Linked DNA regions of Homo sapiens: all the other regions are linked to region 1. The links are contacts of gene promoters, found by promoter capture Hi-C in blood cells and fetal thymus (Javierre and others, 2016). All regions are on one chromosome and are shown on one strand. The core of a region is centred on a gene start or on the middle of the fragment in contact, and the rest is flanking DNA. Distances in the headings are between cores, read along the strand shown.

Region 1 (3,077 bases), core at 272-2,771:
TGGCTCTCCTGAAGGCCAGTTCTGTAGGGTGTCAGTGCCCAGGAAGGACAAAAGTCATGTCCACTCTTGGCTTAGTTATGTTTTATAAGCGTGGGGTATGGAAGGCAGAGGGCGCCCCTGGTGTGCTTCTCTCCCCTCAGACCCCATGAGTGAGCTGTGCCACAGCAGCAGGAAGCAGGGGGAGGTGATCACAGGTGGAGCCAGGCCCCGTCAGAGAGGAGGTGCCTGAGGAGCACCTTCCGCCCTGCCGCCCTGGGTTCAGAGTTCCGAGTTGCAGAGGTCTCGGAAGCAGCAGAAGATCAGGTGGGCGGCCCCGATGCTGTCGGGGTCGGTGGCCACACAGGAGCTGGAGCAGGAGCGGGTCACCACGGGGCTCTGGTTGAAGGGGTACTCTGCAGGGTGGGCCAGTGTCAGAACCCTCACTCCCCTGCAGCGCCTGCCTGCTGCTGCACTGCTCCCAGCCGCCGTCGCCTGACCTCACCCTCCCTGTGATCCCTGTTCCCAATAGTCCACATCTGTGAAGCCACCCAGGGCCCAGCCCTCCTCTGACTGTGACCTGTTCATGAATTATTAGGCCTTGTCAGACCTCTGAAGTGCCTGCGCTGAGATGGGAGCCCGAGCCCAGAGGCTGTGGCAACACCACCCAGTGGGTCTGTGTCAGAGCTGGGGTTTGAGCCCCCCAGGGTACCCCGGCCATTAAGCCCCACCCACCTCCAGCGCCTGGTGCCCCAGGACTGGGTCTCTGAGGGGGCTGTGCCACCCTCGTGGAAGGCACCCCTGCCAAGGTGTGGCAGCCTGTTCTGCCCATCCCACCTGCTGCCTTTTGGGCCGGGAGGAGCACCAGCAAAGGAGGGAGGCACTTGGGGGAGGTGGCCCTGACTCCAGTGCACCCAGGGCTGCCGTGGGGCCTGGCCTCACCTGCCTCCACCGTCACCAGCGTGGTCATGCAGGCTGTGTCCTCTGGCTTGCAGCGGGTAATGGTCCTGCAGGAAGCACTGGTCATGGGCTCCTTGCAGGTGTAGCACTTGAGGGCCTCACCTGGGTGAGGGATGGGGGCAGAACCTCATCACCTGACCTCGGTGGCCTCATCCTGGAACCAGGAGGCAGGGGCTGAAGGAGTCTCGCTGACATCTTTCAAGGCCCCGGGCAGCCCTTCAAGGGGCCTCTCTGGCAGCTTTCTCTAACTGAGCTGAGCCACAGACTTGAATGCTGCATCCCTCCACCAAGCCTCAGTCTCCCTTCCTGCAGAGTGGAGCCGTGACCCCTGTCCCAGGGTGAAGCTGGGCTCTGGGACCCAGGAGGCTCACTGAGAATGAGGAGGGTGAGCCTCATGGAGGCCTAAGGAGGCTCTCAGCCACAAAGCACCCCCAACAGCCCCATCCCCCTAGGAGGTGGGCAGACAAGCTCAGAGGCAGGGTCCCCACCAGCCTGCGGCCCACTCACCACAGCCCATGCTCCAGGCTGCCACGAGCAGCAGCTGCACAGCCCAGCGAGAGGCCATTGCTCCGTGCTCAGAAGTGATGAGAGGTAGCCAGCCTCACATCAAGGATTTATACCCAGGCCCTTGGGCACCGGCTTCTGGGCGGTGGCAGAACCGGCCGTGTGAGTCAGGAACGTGGTAAAGGGCCCAGTGGGGAGGCAGCTGGCAGGAACATGGCAGACGGGCAGGGAGCTGGATCTGGGAGCTCTGTCTGAGGACGATGGCCAGGCCTCTGCTTGCACACCTCCAACACTGGGGAACTCACTGTTCCTCAGCCATGTCCAGTGGTCCTGGGACAGCTCTGACAGAGAAGGCCTTTCCTGCTGAGCTCAGACTGCCCCTCTGATGAGCCCCCATGTCCTGGCTGTGCCTCTGGGGTTCACATAGGCCACCCAGCCCCAGCCTGGGGGACCCTTAAGACCCAGGTTCAGTGTAGCCTCTGCCCTTGTTGCTCTAGCCCCGCCTGGCACCCCTTCCCTGCAGCCTGGCCTGCAGCCCTCTCCACAGACCTCTACCTGGTCTGTGTACACCTGATACACACCTGCAAAGTAGAAACCAGAGGTAGGAAGCAGGTGTCAGGTGAGGGTAGCATGGGCCAGCTAGACCACTCTCAGGCTGACAAGGTTGGGCCCAGGAGTGGCCCCTCATCACTGCCAGCCCCTTCCCACTAATGGCCTTTAGACCAAACCTGAGTTTCTTGATTTTAGGCGCCTGACAATAAGGTTCTGCTCACCCTCCAGCCTCCTGGCCTGACTGTGTTGTCTGCTCTTTACTGCGTGCCCCCCACGACACCCTGTTCCACACGCATGCCTGCCTATGCCATACCGCTCAATGACCACATTGCCTGGTCTCCCATCTGATGTCCCACATCTTCCCCATGCTGTGAGACCCACTAAGGTGCCCCTCTCCACAGTCCTTCCAGGTATACCAGCCTCTCTGGTTTCTCTGTCCTGTGATGTCCCAATGGGTGGTTGTATAGATGGATGAGTTGATGGATGGATGGATGGGGGATGGATGAATGGGGGATGAATAGGCGATGGATAGGGGATGGATGGATAGATGGGTGGGGGATGGATGGGTAAATGAATGGGAGATGGATGGGTGGATGCATGAGTGGATGGGTGGATGGATGGGTAGATGGATTAGTGGGGGATGAATATGGGATGGATGGATGGATGGTAAGAGATGGATAGGAAATGGGTGAAGGATGTATGGGTGGATAAGTTGGGGATGAATGGAGGATGGGTGGGGGATGGATGCATAGATGGATGGATAGGTGGATGGATGGATGGATGGGTGGATGGATGGGTAGATGGATGAGTGGGGGATGAATATGGGATGGATGGGGGATGGATGGTTGGATGGATGGGGGATGGATGGGAAATGGGTGGAGGATGGATGGGTGGATGGGTGGGGGATGAATGGAGGATGGGTTGGGGATGGTTGGGTGGATGGATGGATGGGTGGATGGATGGGTAGCTGATGAGTGGGGGATGAATATGGGATGGATGGGTGGATGGTGGGAGATGGATGGGAAATGGGTGGAGGATGTATGGGTGGATGGGTCAGGGATGAATGAAGGATGGGTGGGGGATGG
Region 2 (3,229 bases), core at 350-2,849, 390 kb after region 1:
AGGCCTCCACCCAACATCCGCGCATTGGAGATGGGAAGTTCCTTGGGTTTTGCAAGGCACAGGGGAGAATGGCAGAGCTCCTGTGCCCTCCTGGGCGCCGTCCTCCAGGCACCTGCGTGCGTCCAACTGTTGAAAGCTCCTTTTGGGTTTTTATGGAAGCTTCATTACATATACATGATTGATTGCATCGTTGGCTATTGATGATCAACCCAAACTTCATCACACTCACTACAAAAGAGACTCTTGTCACTCCAGAGATTCCAGGAAGGAGCTAAGCTGTATCTCACGCTCTCACGACACTCTATTCTGGACTTGGCTTATTTGTAACAGAAGCAACCTTGGGAACAGCATGAGGTGTTTAGAATGGTGAGTCCTCTGTCAATTTCAGCCGACTTGGACCTACTTCTTCTGATCCAGGTACCCACTCTTGCTGGCACCAGGACACTGAGACGGTCCAGGAAACACGGCAAGCATACGTGTGCACCACACTGCTCGTCCCGTCCAGCTGTGGCCATGCTGAAAATTGCAATGGGCCACTGGAAGACAGGTTATTCAGGCAGGTGTGAGAAACGTGACCAGTTGGTGGAGTCGCTTAACTGGGGTGTCTTCAGACTGAGCCTGAGGGGAAGGCAGGCAGGCCGCTCACAGGCTTCAGGGCTGGGGGAAGGAGGAGGGCGTGTGGGGGGTGCAATTGGACCCTCTGTACCTTCCCCACCTCCCAAAGGTTTCTCTTCTTCTGCCTGAGCCAGTGGTCCCAGGACCCCATGCCCAAGCACTAAAGTGGGCGGCACAGGCTCCAGAAGGGACATTAGACTGGTCATGACTGGACCCCATGGCGGGACTTCCTGCAAATGTGGCCAGCAGGAGGGCTGCCCCGTGGCTCCTCACCGGCGAGTCCTGTGGCAGCAGCAGGCCGAGACACAGCACCACAGGGCTGTGCCGGGTGCCTGCTCGAAGGCAGAGCTGCAGTGGGGGATCCAACAGGAACCGTGGAAATGGGGGGCTCCTGCAGGCAGGGGGATACCCACAGGGTCCCGTGATCCTGCAGGGGTGCAAGTGGCTCCTTCCGTGATGGCCCTAGAGCAAGAGGGTAATACTCTTGCCACCTCTCCCAGACCTGGGGCCAAGTAAAGGCTGATGATAAAGAAGCCAGAGGTGCTTTTCCCAGAGATGGGAATCGGATTCCTGCTGACTTCACCTGAGTAATTCAGAGCACGAGGGAAGCTGCACCTCCAGGGGCGCTCCTGACAGGTAACCCACTGGAGCTGCTATTCCGCAGCAGAGGCACCAGCCAGAAAGATCCGAAAGAAACATTTTCAAAAGTGGACCAAGATGGCTGCAGTTTGGCCACACGGGTAGTAGGAGGCAGGCCTGGCCTATGAGGCTGGAATCTGCATTGTCTCACTGACGTGTCCTGGTCACTGCCGTGCCTGTCAGATGAGGCAGGACAGAACAGTCGCCCCTGCAGACCCTGAGGCTCCAGTAGGTGCCAGCTTTCCACCCTGTGTGCCAGCCACGTGTCCACTCCACCTGTGTACAAGGCACCGAGGCCAGGCAGGACTGCGAGGTCCCCCTGAGCGCACTGCCCCTCTCAGGCTGTGGAACCACCCCTCCTGCCTCCTCAGCCGATGGAACCTGTGTTCCGGGTTGCCACTCACTCTTGGCTCAGCATAAAACGCACTTTGGCTTCTCTAAGTCTGCAGTGCCCATGAGTGCGGCCTCCAGCCGTCGCTGCCGTCTGCCCCTCTCGGAGGACAGATGAGAACAGTGCAGGGATCCCAGGGTGGGGAATGCCCAGGAGCCTGGCCTCCACTCTGGGGTGACCCCGGACCTGCCAGGCGCTGCCTGCATGTGGAGGGGGCATTGCTGCCTCCTCCCTGCCTCAGAGCTTGATCTGCGAGTCCGAACGTGCCAAGTGTGAACCAGCCCCAGCGATCTCCAGGCAGAAACAGATGCATTGGTCTCATGAGGGTTGGCCCCACCCTGCTGAAGGTTTGGGGAGATTTTAGAATTTGGTCTTGGGGCCCTGAGTGCGGCAGAAACAGTGTCCCTGCACGCTCATCATGAAGAGCAGGAGGCTTGTTATCCTGAGTAGGGACAGCAGAGGGCGACCTCTTCCAGGATCCAGACACAGGCCCGGGAGGCTGTAAAGGCCACTCATACGGGAATCGATGGAAATCGGACACCCGTCCCCAGCCCTGGGCCAGTGTGCATCCTTCCTCACCCAGGAGGGGCTACTGAACACTCTCATCCCTGGCATCTGATGCTGTAGAGGTCAGAGGCCAGGTCGGGGCCGGGCAGTAGCCTGAGTCCTGAGGGAGCAGTGCTGACAACGGCCCCTCAACCCATCGCTGTTCTCCCGCAGCCTGAGTGCCACCAATGTAAAAGGACAGCTGTGTGGGCCGCATGTGCCCGGAATGAGGCCCCCTGCTCCCTCAGCCGCGTTCTCATGGGTGAACAAAGACCGTGATGGAACCCACCTGAGCCCCTGAGCCGGCTGGACTGGATTATCCTCCCTATGCGTGGATAATCAGAGCCGGGATTATTCCCCTTAAATATTCCTCTTCCCACTGGCAGTTCTGATTCTCTTTGGACAACTGTTAGGAAACTGAAAAACCTAACAGTGTGTCCTCCTTTCCTGGCCAAGGAAGAAACCACCGTTTAGCTTCTTCATGCCCCAGCCAAAGAGCAGGCGATGGAGGCCCAGAAAACCAACCCCACGCTGTCTGACACAGCTCTCGAGACCCGGTCATCTAAGGCAGCTGTTTGCAAGGCTCTCCTGGGCTGCACCTGCCACCACTTCTCACAACCCACCTTAGCTCCAGTCTGCAGAGCCCCTGCGAAGGCTGAGTTAGAGAACGCTGAGCCCCTGCTGCTAGCAGACACACAGGGTTAGGGTCCCGCAAGCCTCTGGCTCCGTTTTCATCAGCCGATCAATATATCATCTCATTCTCTGTGTTTCTATTTAAAGATCCCTTACTGAATGCACGTGGTGGCTTCATTAACATTGCAATCGGTGCCAAGCACCGTAAGCCTGGACAAAGCTTCTCTGACCCAGGCATTCCTTGCCTAGGACGTGAGGCAGCACCTCGGGACAATGCTTGGGGACATTGCAAACAGCAAAGTCACCCACAAAAAGCACAAAAATGCAAAAAAAAAAAAAATGGCACCAGATAGACCACGAAAAGGGCTCTTGATTGCAGCACAAGCTGGAGCAAGAAGGCCGCCC
Region 3 (3,474 bases), core at 214-2,713, 260 kb after region 1:
CGATTGCTCTGGCTGGGACTTCCAATACTACGTTGAACCGGAATGGTGAGAGAGAGAATTCCTATCTCATGCTGGTTTTCCAGGGGAATACTTCCAGCTTTTGGCCATTCAGTATGATGTTGGCTGTGGGTTTGTCAGAGATGCCTCTTATTATTTTGAGGTATGTTCCTTCAATATCTAGTTTATTGAGAGTTTTTAACATTAAGCGGTATTGAATTTTATAAAAAGCTTTCTCTGACTCTATTGAGATAATTGTATGGTTTTTGTCTTTAGTTCTGTTTATGTGATGAATCACATGTGTTGATTTGTGTATGTTGAACCAACCTTGCATGCCAGGGATAAAGCCTACTTGATCATAGTGGATAAGCTTGATGATGTGCTGCTGGATTCCATTTGCCAGTCTTTTGTTGAGGGTTTTTGTGTCGATGTTCATCGAGGATATTGGCCTGAAGTTTTTGTTGTTGTTGCTGTGTCTCTGCCAGGTTTTGGTATCAGAATGATGGTGGCTTCATAGAATGAGTTAGAGAGGAGTCTCTCCTCCTCAATTTTTTTGGAATCATTTCAGCAACAATGGTACCAGTTCTCCTTTTACATCTGATATACTTCAGCTGAGACTCCATCTGGACCTGGGCTTTTTTTGATTGGTAAGCTATTCATTACTGATTCAATTTCAGAGCTCATTATTGGTGTGTTCAGGGATTCCATTTCTTCCTGGCTCAGTTTTTTGTTTTTTGTTTGTTTTTGAGACAGAGTCTTGCTCTGTCTCCCAGGCAGGAGTGCAGTGGTGCAATCTTGGCTCACTGCAACCTCTGCCTCCCAGGTTCAAGCAATTCTCCTGCCTCAGCCTCCTGAGTAGCTGGGATTACAGGCATGTACCACCATGCCCAGCTAATTTGTATATTTTAGTGGAGATGGGGTTTCACTATGTTGGCCAGGCTGGTCTCAAACTCGTGATCTCAAGTGATCCACCCACCTTGGCCTCCTAAAGTGCTGGGATTACAGGCATGAGCTACCATGCCTGGCCCTGGCTCAGTCTTGAGAGGGTGTATATGTCCAGGAATTTACCCATTTTTTCTGGATTTTCTAGTTTATGTGCATAGAGGTGTTCATAATATTCTCTGGTGGTTATTTATATTTCTGTGGGGCCACTGGTAATATCTCCTTTGTCATCTCTGATCGTGTTTATTTGGATCTTCGCTTTTCTTCTGTATTAGTCTAGCTAGTGGTCTATCTATTGTATTAACTTTTTCAAAAAACCAACTTCTGGATTTGTTGATCTTTTGAATGGTTTTCACGTCTCAGTCTCCTTCGGTTCTGCTCTGATTTTGGCTACTTCTTGTCTTCTGCTAGCTTTGGGGCTGGTTTTCTCTTGGTTCTCCAGTTCTTTTAGTTGTGATGTTCGGTTGTTAAATTGAGATCTTTCTAACTTTTTGATGTGGGCCTTTAGTGCTATAAATTTCCCCTTAACACTGACTTAGCTGTGTCCCAGAGATTCTGGTATGCTGTATCTTTGTTCTTATTAGTTTGAAAGAACGTCTTGATTTCTGACTTAATTTCATCATCTACGCAAAAGTCAATCAGGGGCAGGTTATTCAATTTCCATATAATTGCATGATTTTGAGTGAATTTCTTAGTCTTGATTTCTAATTTGGTTGTGCTGTGGTCTGAGAAATTGGTTGTTATGATTTCAGTTCTTTTGTATTTGCTGAGGAGTGTTTTTTGTTCAATCATGTGATCTATCTTAGAGTATGTGTCATGTGGCAATGAGAAGAATGCATATTCTGTTGTTTCGGGGTGGAGAGTTCTGTAGGTGTCTATCAGGTCCATTTGTTCCAGTGCTGAGTTCAGCTCCTGAATTTTTTTGTGAATTTTCTGCCTTAATGATCTGTCTAATACTGTCAGTGGGGTGTTAAAGTCTCCCACTATTATTGTGTGAGAGTCTAAGTCTCTTTGAAGGTCTTTAAGAACTTGCTTTATAAATGTGGGTGCTCCTATGTTGGGTGCATATATATTTAGGATAGTTAGGTCTTCTTGTTGAATTGAACGTTTTACCATTATGTAATGCCCATCTTTGTCTTTTTTGATCTTTGTCGGCTTAATGTCTGTTTTGTCTGAAGTTAGGATTGCAACCCCTGATTTGTTGTTTTCCATTTGCTTGGTAGATTTTTCTCCATCCTTTTATTTGAGCCTATGGATGTCACTGCATGTGAAATGGATCTCTTGAAGACAACATACCGATGGGTATTGGTTCTTTATCCAGCATGCAACTCTGTGCCTTTTAATTGGGGCATTTAGCCCATTTACATGCAAGGTTAGTATTGATATATGTGGATTTGCTCCTGTCATCATGTTAGCTGATTATTATGCAGATTTGTTTGTGTGGTTGCTTTATAGTGCAACTGGTCTGTGTACTTTGGTATGTTTTTGTAGTGGCTGGTAACAGTCTTTCTTTTCCATATTTAGTGCTGCCTTCAGGAGTTCTTGTGAGGCAGGTCTGGTGGTGACAAATTCCCTCAGCATTTACTTGTCTGAAAAGGATCTTATTTCTCCTTCACTTATGAAGCTTAGTTTGGCCAGATATGAAATTCTGGGTTGGAATTTCTTTAGGAATGTTGAATATTGGCCCCCAATCTCTTCTGGCTTGTAGGGTTTCTACTGAGAGGTCTGCTCTTAGTCTGATAGGTGTTCCTTTGTAGGTGACCTGGCCTTTCTCTCTGGCTGCCTTTAACTTTTTTCCTTTCATTTCGACCTTGAAGAATTTCATGATTATGTGTCTTGGGGATGATCTTCTCATAGAGTATCTTACTCTGAGTTTCCTGGATTTGGATGGCAGCCTCTCTAGCTAGGCTGGGGAAGTTTTCATGGATGATATCCTGAAATCTGTCTTCCAAGTTGCTTACACTCTCCCCATCTCTTTCAGGGACACCAATGAGTCACAGATTTGGATTACAGAATCCCATATTTCCTGGAGGTTTTGTTCATTCCTTTTCAAAGTTCTTTTGTCTCCATTCTTGTCTGACTGTCTTATTTCAGAAAGCTAGTCTTCAAGCACTGAGATTCTTTCCTCCACTTGGTATATTCTGCTATTAATACTTCTGATTGCATTATGAAATTCTTATAGTGTGGTTTTCGGTGCTATCAGGTCAGTTATGCTCTTTTCTATACTGGCAATTTTGTCTGTCAGCTCCTGCATCATTTTATTGTGACTCCTATCATCCTTGGATTGGGTTTCCACATACCCCTACACCTCAATGATCTTGGTTCCTATCCATATTCTGAATTCTATTTCTGTCATTTCAGCCATCTCAGCCTGGTTCAGAACCCTTGCTGGAGAGGTGGGGCAGTCATTTGGAGGAAAGAAGGCACTCTGGCTTGTGTTGTCTGGGTTCTTGAACTGGTTCTTTCTTATCTTTTGGGCTGATGTTCCTATGCTCTTTGAAGTTGCTAACCTTTGGATGATTTTTTTTTCTTTTA
Region 4 (3,100 bases), core at 49-2,548, 410 kb after region 1:
AGCCACGCTGCTCCGAGCACCGCCATGGGCCAGGGAAGTCTGGGACCTGGCCTCACCGCTGCCTCAAAACCCTCTCTCACCCACCCAGAGATTTCCCAGCTGGACACTCAGCGGTTTTCCCAGAGCCTCTGGTTCTCCATTGCTGAGCCAGTGATGCATGGCTGCTTCCAGCCAGCCCCCAGTGCCGAGAGAAGGAGCCCCCGTGACATTAGGGGAACTTGAGGACAGTGGTGGGGAGGGCAGAGAGGCTCTGCTCTAGCCGGGGGATTCTGGAGCTTCAGCCAGGAGGGCCACTGTCAGGCGAGGGGCCGGGGGAGGCCCCCAGCCCCAGACTCTCCTGTTCCTTGAGGGCCTGACTCTCAGCCACTCCCACCTTCCAGTTCTCCAGGACGCCCCCACCCCAGTATCCTGCGGTGCCCACCTCAGCCCAGTCAGCATCGGGGGGCCCTGCCCCACCCATAACTCACCTATGCCCTCGCTGGGTGGCCCAGGCCCGCCCTCCCCAGGCCAGGTCCTGGGCCTCCTGGGCGCCTCCATCCACCCCATGCCCGTCAGGCCTCACCTCCTGCATCCCACCAGGACCTCCCAGATGGGCACCCACCCCCATCATGGGCTGCAGACTACAGCTGGCCAGCCTTTCTAGGATCCCAGACCTGAGCCCATAGCTGGGGCTCAAAGGCATTAAGGCCGGCCTGGTCCTCCTGGATTCAAGCTTCTTGGGCCACCAGGTTTTGTTCGTCACTGTCCTCTCTGTCCCCTAATAACGTTCACTGCTAGAAATGACCACCTGACACACCCTCCCACGCTCAGGACCTGGGGCACAGGCCTCGCTGGTAAAAGCCCACATGGGAGGGGAGTGAGCCCCGCAGCTCAGGCATCAAGACTGCAGGGAGCAGCAGGTGCCCCCATCCCAGCTCTGCAGCCCCTGTCTCCCGCTCTGGGCCTCTTGGTTCTGATCTGCTCCTCTCTGCGTGTCTTAGCTGTGCCGAGGGGGCACGGACAGATGCATTTCAAACTCACGTCAGCAAGCATGGACAGGTGCAGAAACCAACACAAGAGAGAATGAGCCACCGGGTGGAGTCAATCAATGAACACATTTAGCCCCCTCCCCTCCAGTTCACCCACACCCACCAGGTGGGGCTAGAGCCTTACAGTGGGAAGGGGCTCACGGGGGCCGGAGCATAAGGGGGGACCGCAGAGCCCAGGAGGAGCAGGGGCCACCGGCCACCCACGTGTGCAGGCCTTCCCTGCCCAGTGAGGGGACAGAAGACCAGGCCTGGGACTCCCGGGCACCCAGGATGGGACAGCACAGGGAGGGCCTCAGAAATGCTCCAGGGCAGAGGGACAGACGCCAGGGAGAGGCGATTCCAGGAACCACCCTCGTGTGCCCTTCTGGGGATGGGAGACGTCCCCTGCACCTGTGAGCTTAGGTCTGAGTCAGCATGTTCTGCATCCCTGCAGGAAACACAGGGAGCAGGGGTGGTGGGCCTGGGACCCCCTGGGGGTGAGGCGTGGTCCACAGGCCCCTAGGCTGCAGGGGCCACAGGTTCCTGCCCTCAGTGGAGGGAGGACTCACTGGAGGCTGGGTGTGGGAAAACAGCACCCCTATGCTGCCCGGCCCTGAATCCCCCAGCCCACAGTGCCAGCACAGCCCCAGCACACACGGGGCCTCGAAGTGCAGGGGTGAGCCCCAGGCCTGGGCACCACGCAGCTTCCAACTGGGTTCCTCCATCGGGCGCTGGGTAATCGCCAGCCCTGCTCCGCCTGAGAAGAAAGCAGGAGAGGTTCCCTTTAAGCATCGGAGGAGGGAAGATTTTTCTATGACTCAAATCCTGAAGCTGTAAGAAATAATGGTAATAGTGTCTCCATAAAAATTCAAGGAAAAGAAGCTTCCATGTGGCAAAAAAAAAGAAAAAAGAAAAAAAAACTCACAAAACACCATAAGCAAAATAAAGGGGGAAATGTGTGTCACTCTTATTATAAATGAAGGGCTTATTTCCCAGCTATGCAGAAAGTTCCCAGAAAAGAGTAAGGAGACCAACCATCCCACAGCAAAGGGACCGAGGTTATGAGCAGAGAGGCCAGAGAAATGGAAACCATCCCCACACACCCCCCAACAAAAGACAAAGAAATCAAAATGCCCAGAACGAGAAGACGGGCATGCACGAACCAATAAGGGGCACGTGCCAGGAGCCAAGGGTGACGGCGCCTCCAGGTCCCCATACCTGTGGTCCAACTTCCAAAATTCAGAACACAGCTGCAATGCCGTCTTTCATTGCTGACCAGACTCACGGAAGTCCAACGGCAACAGAGAAGCTGTGGTCTCAGGCATCGCTACTGGAAGTGTGAAAGTGTGCAGCCCCAGGACAACCATGCTCACTCATCAGTTACAGGCCCAGCAAGACTGACTCTGGAGATGTGTCCCCACACGCAGCAGCTAGCTGACATGTCTGAGGCTATGCATTACAGCCTTGTAACTGGAGCATGAGTGAGACCATCTAAATATGCAGAAACAGGCCAGGCGCGGTGGTTCACGCATGTAATCCCAGCACTTTGGGAGGCCAAGGCCAGCAGATCACTTGAGGTCGGGAGTTGGAGATCAGCCTGACCAACATGGTGAAACCCCATCTCTACTAAAGATACAAAAATTAGCCAGGCATGGTGGCACACACCTGTAATCCCAGCTACTTGGGAGGCTGAGGTACAAGAATCTCTTGAACCCAGGAGGCAGAGGTTGCAATGAGCCAAGATGACACCACTGCACTCCAGCCTGGGCGACAGAGTAAGACTCTGTCTCTAAATAAATAAATAAGCAGACACAGGAGTATGTGTGCTGTGCGATGCTGCTGTTAAGAACGGAGTGGGGAGCTGGCTCTGCGCCATCACAGAAAGATCTCCAGGCTGCACTGAGAGGCAGAAAGAGTAAACGACCTCAGCTGTAAAGGACTTTCTTGTCCTTGTATAAAGACATCCTGAACGGGTACACAGGAAACCGGTCAGATAATGACAGGGCAGGAGACACACTTCTCAAGGTAGACTTCTTTTTTAATTGATGCAAGCGTTCTTACCTGTTTTTTTAAAAGAATCCAAACAGAGGAGC

What was found. Contacts are between HindIII fragments. The CHiCAGO score rates a contact against its expected background, and 5 or more counts as called.
Region 2: a contact is called between a fragment that was not itself captured here and the fragment with the promoter of SLURP1 in region 1, in 1 of 17 cell types (naive CD8 T cells). The highest score is 5.2, in naive CD8 T cells.
Region 3: a contact is called between a fragment that was not itself captured here and the fragment with the promoter of SLURP1 in region 1, in 2 of 17 cell types (naive CD8 T cells and total CD4 T cells). The highest score is 5.6, in naive CD8 T cells.
Region 4: a contact is called between a fragment that was not itself captured here and the fragment with the promoter of SLURP1 in region 1, in 1 of 17 cell types (naive CD8 T cells). The highest score is 5.9, in naive CD8 T cells.

The regions. Positions count from the first base shown.
Region 1 is chr8:142,740,885-142,743,961 of GRCh38, forward strand. SLURP1 (secreted LY6/PLAUR domain containing 1) reads right to left here and starts at 1,522. Exons shown (of 3, transcript NM_020427.3): 1 at 1,444-1,522; 2 at 919-1,038; 3 at 65-392. The coding sequence starts at 1,501. The coding sequence ends at 259. The HindIII fragment of the contact is 7,810 bases long and covers 1-3,077 here.
Region 2 is chr8:143,129,100-143,132,328 of GRCh38, forward strand. No RefSeq gene overlaps it. Among named protein-coding and RNA genes, the nearest start is that of LY6H, 30 kb to the right of the region's middle. The HindIII fragment of the contact is 2,885 bases long and covers 158-3,042 here.
Region 3 is chr8:143,004,294-143,007,767 of GRCh38, forward strand. The region is part of intron 1 of LY6E-DT (LY6E divergent transcript); the gene reads right to left. Among named protein-coding and RNA genes, the nearest start is that of LY6E-DT, 12 kb to the right of the region's middle. RefSeq lists an enhancer at 3,429-3,474. The HindIII fragment of the contact is 2,196 bases long and covers 366-2,561 here.
Region 4 is chr8:143,147,807-143,150,906 of GRCh38, forward strand. No RefSeq gene overlaps it. Among named protein-coding and RNA genes, the nearest start is that of LY6H, 11 kb to the right of the region's middle. The HindIII fragment of the contact is 1,177 bases long and covers 711-1,887 here.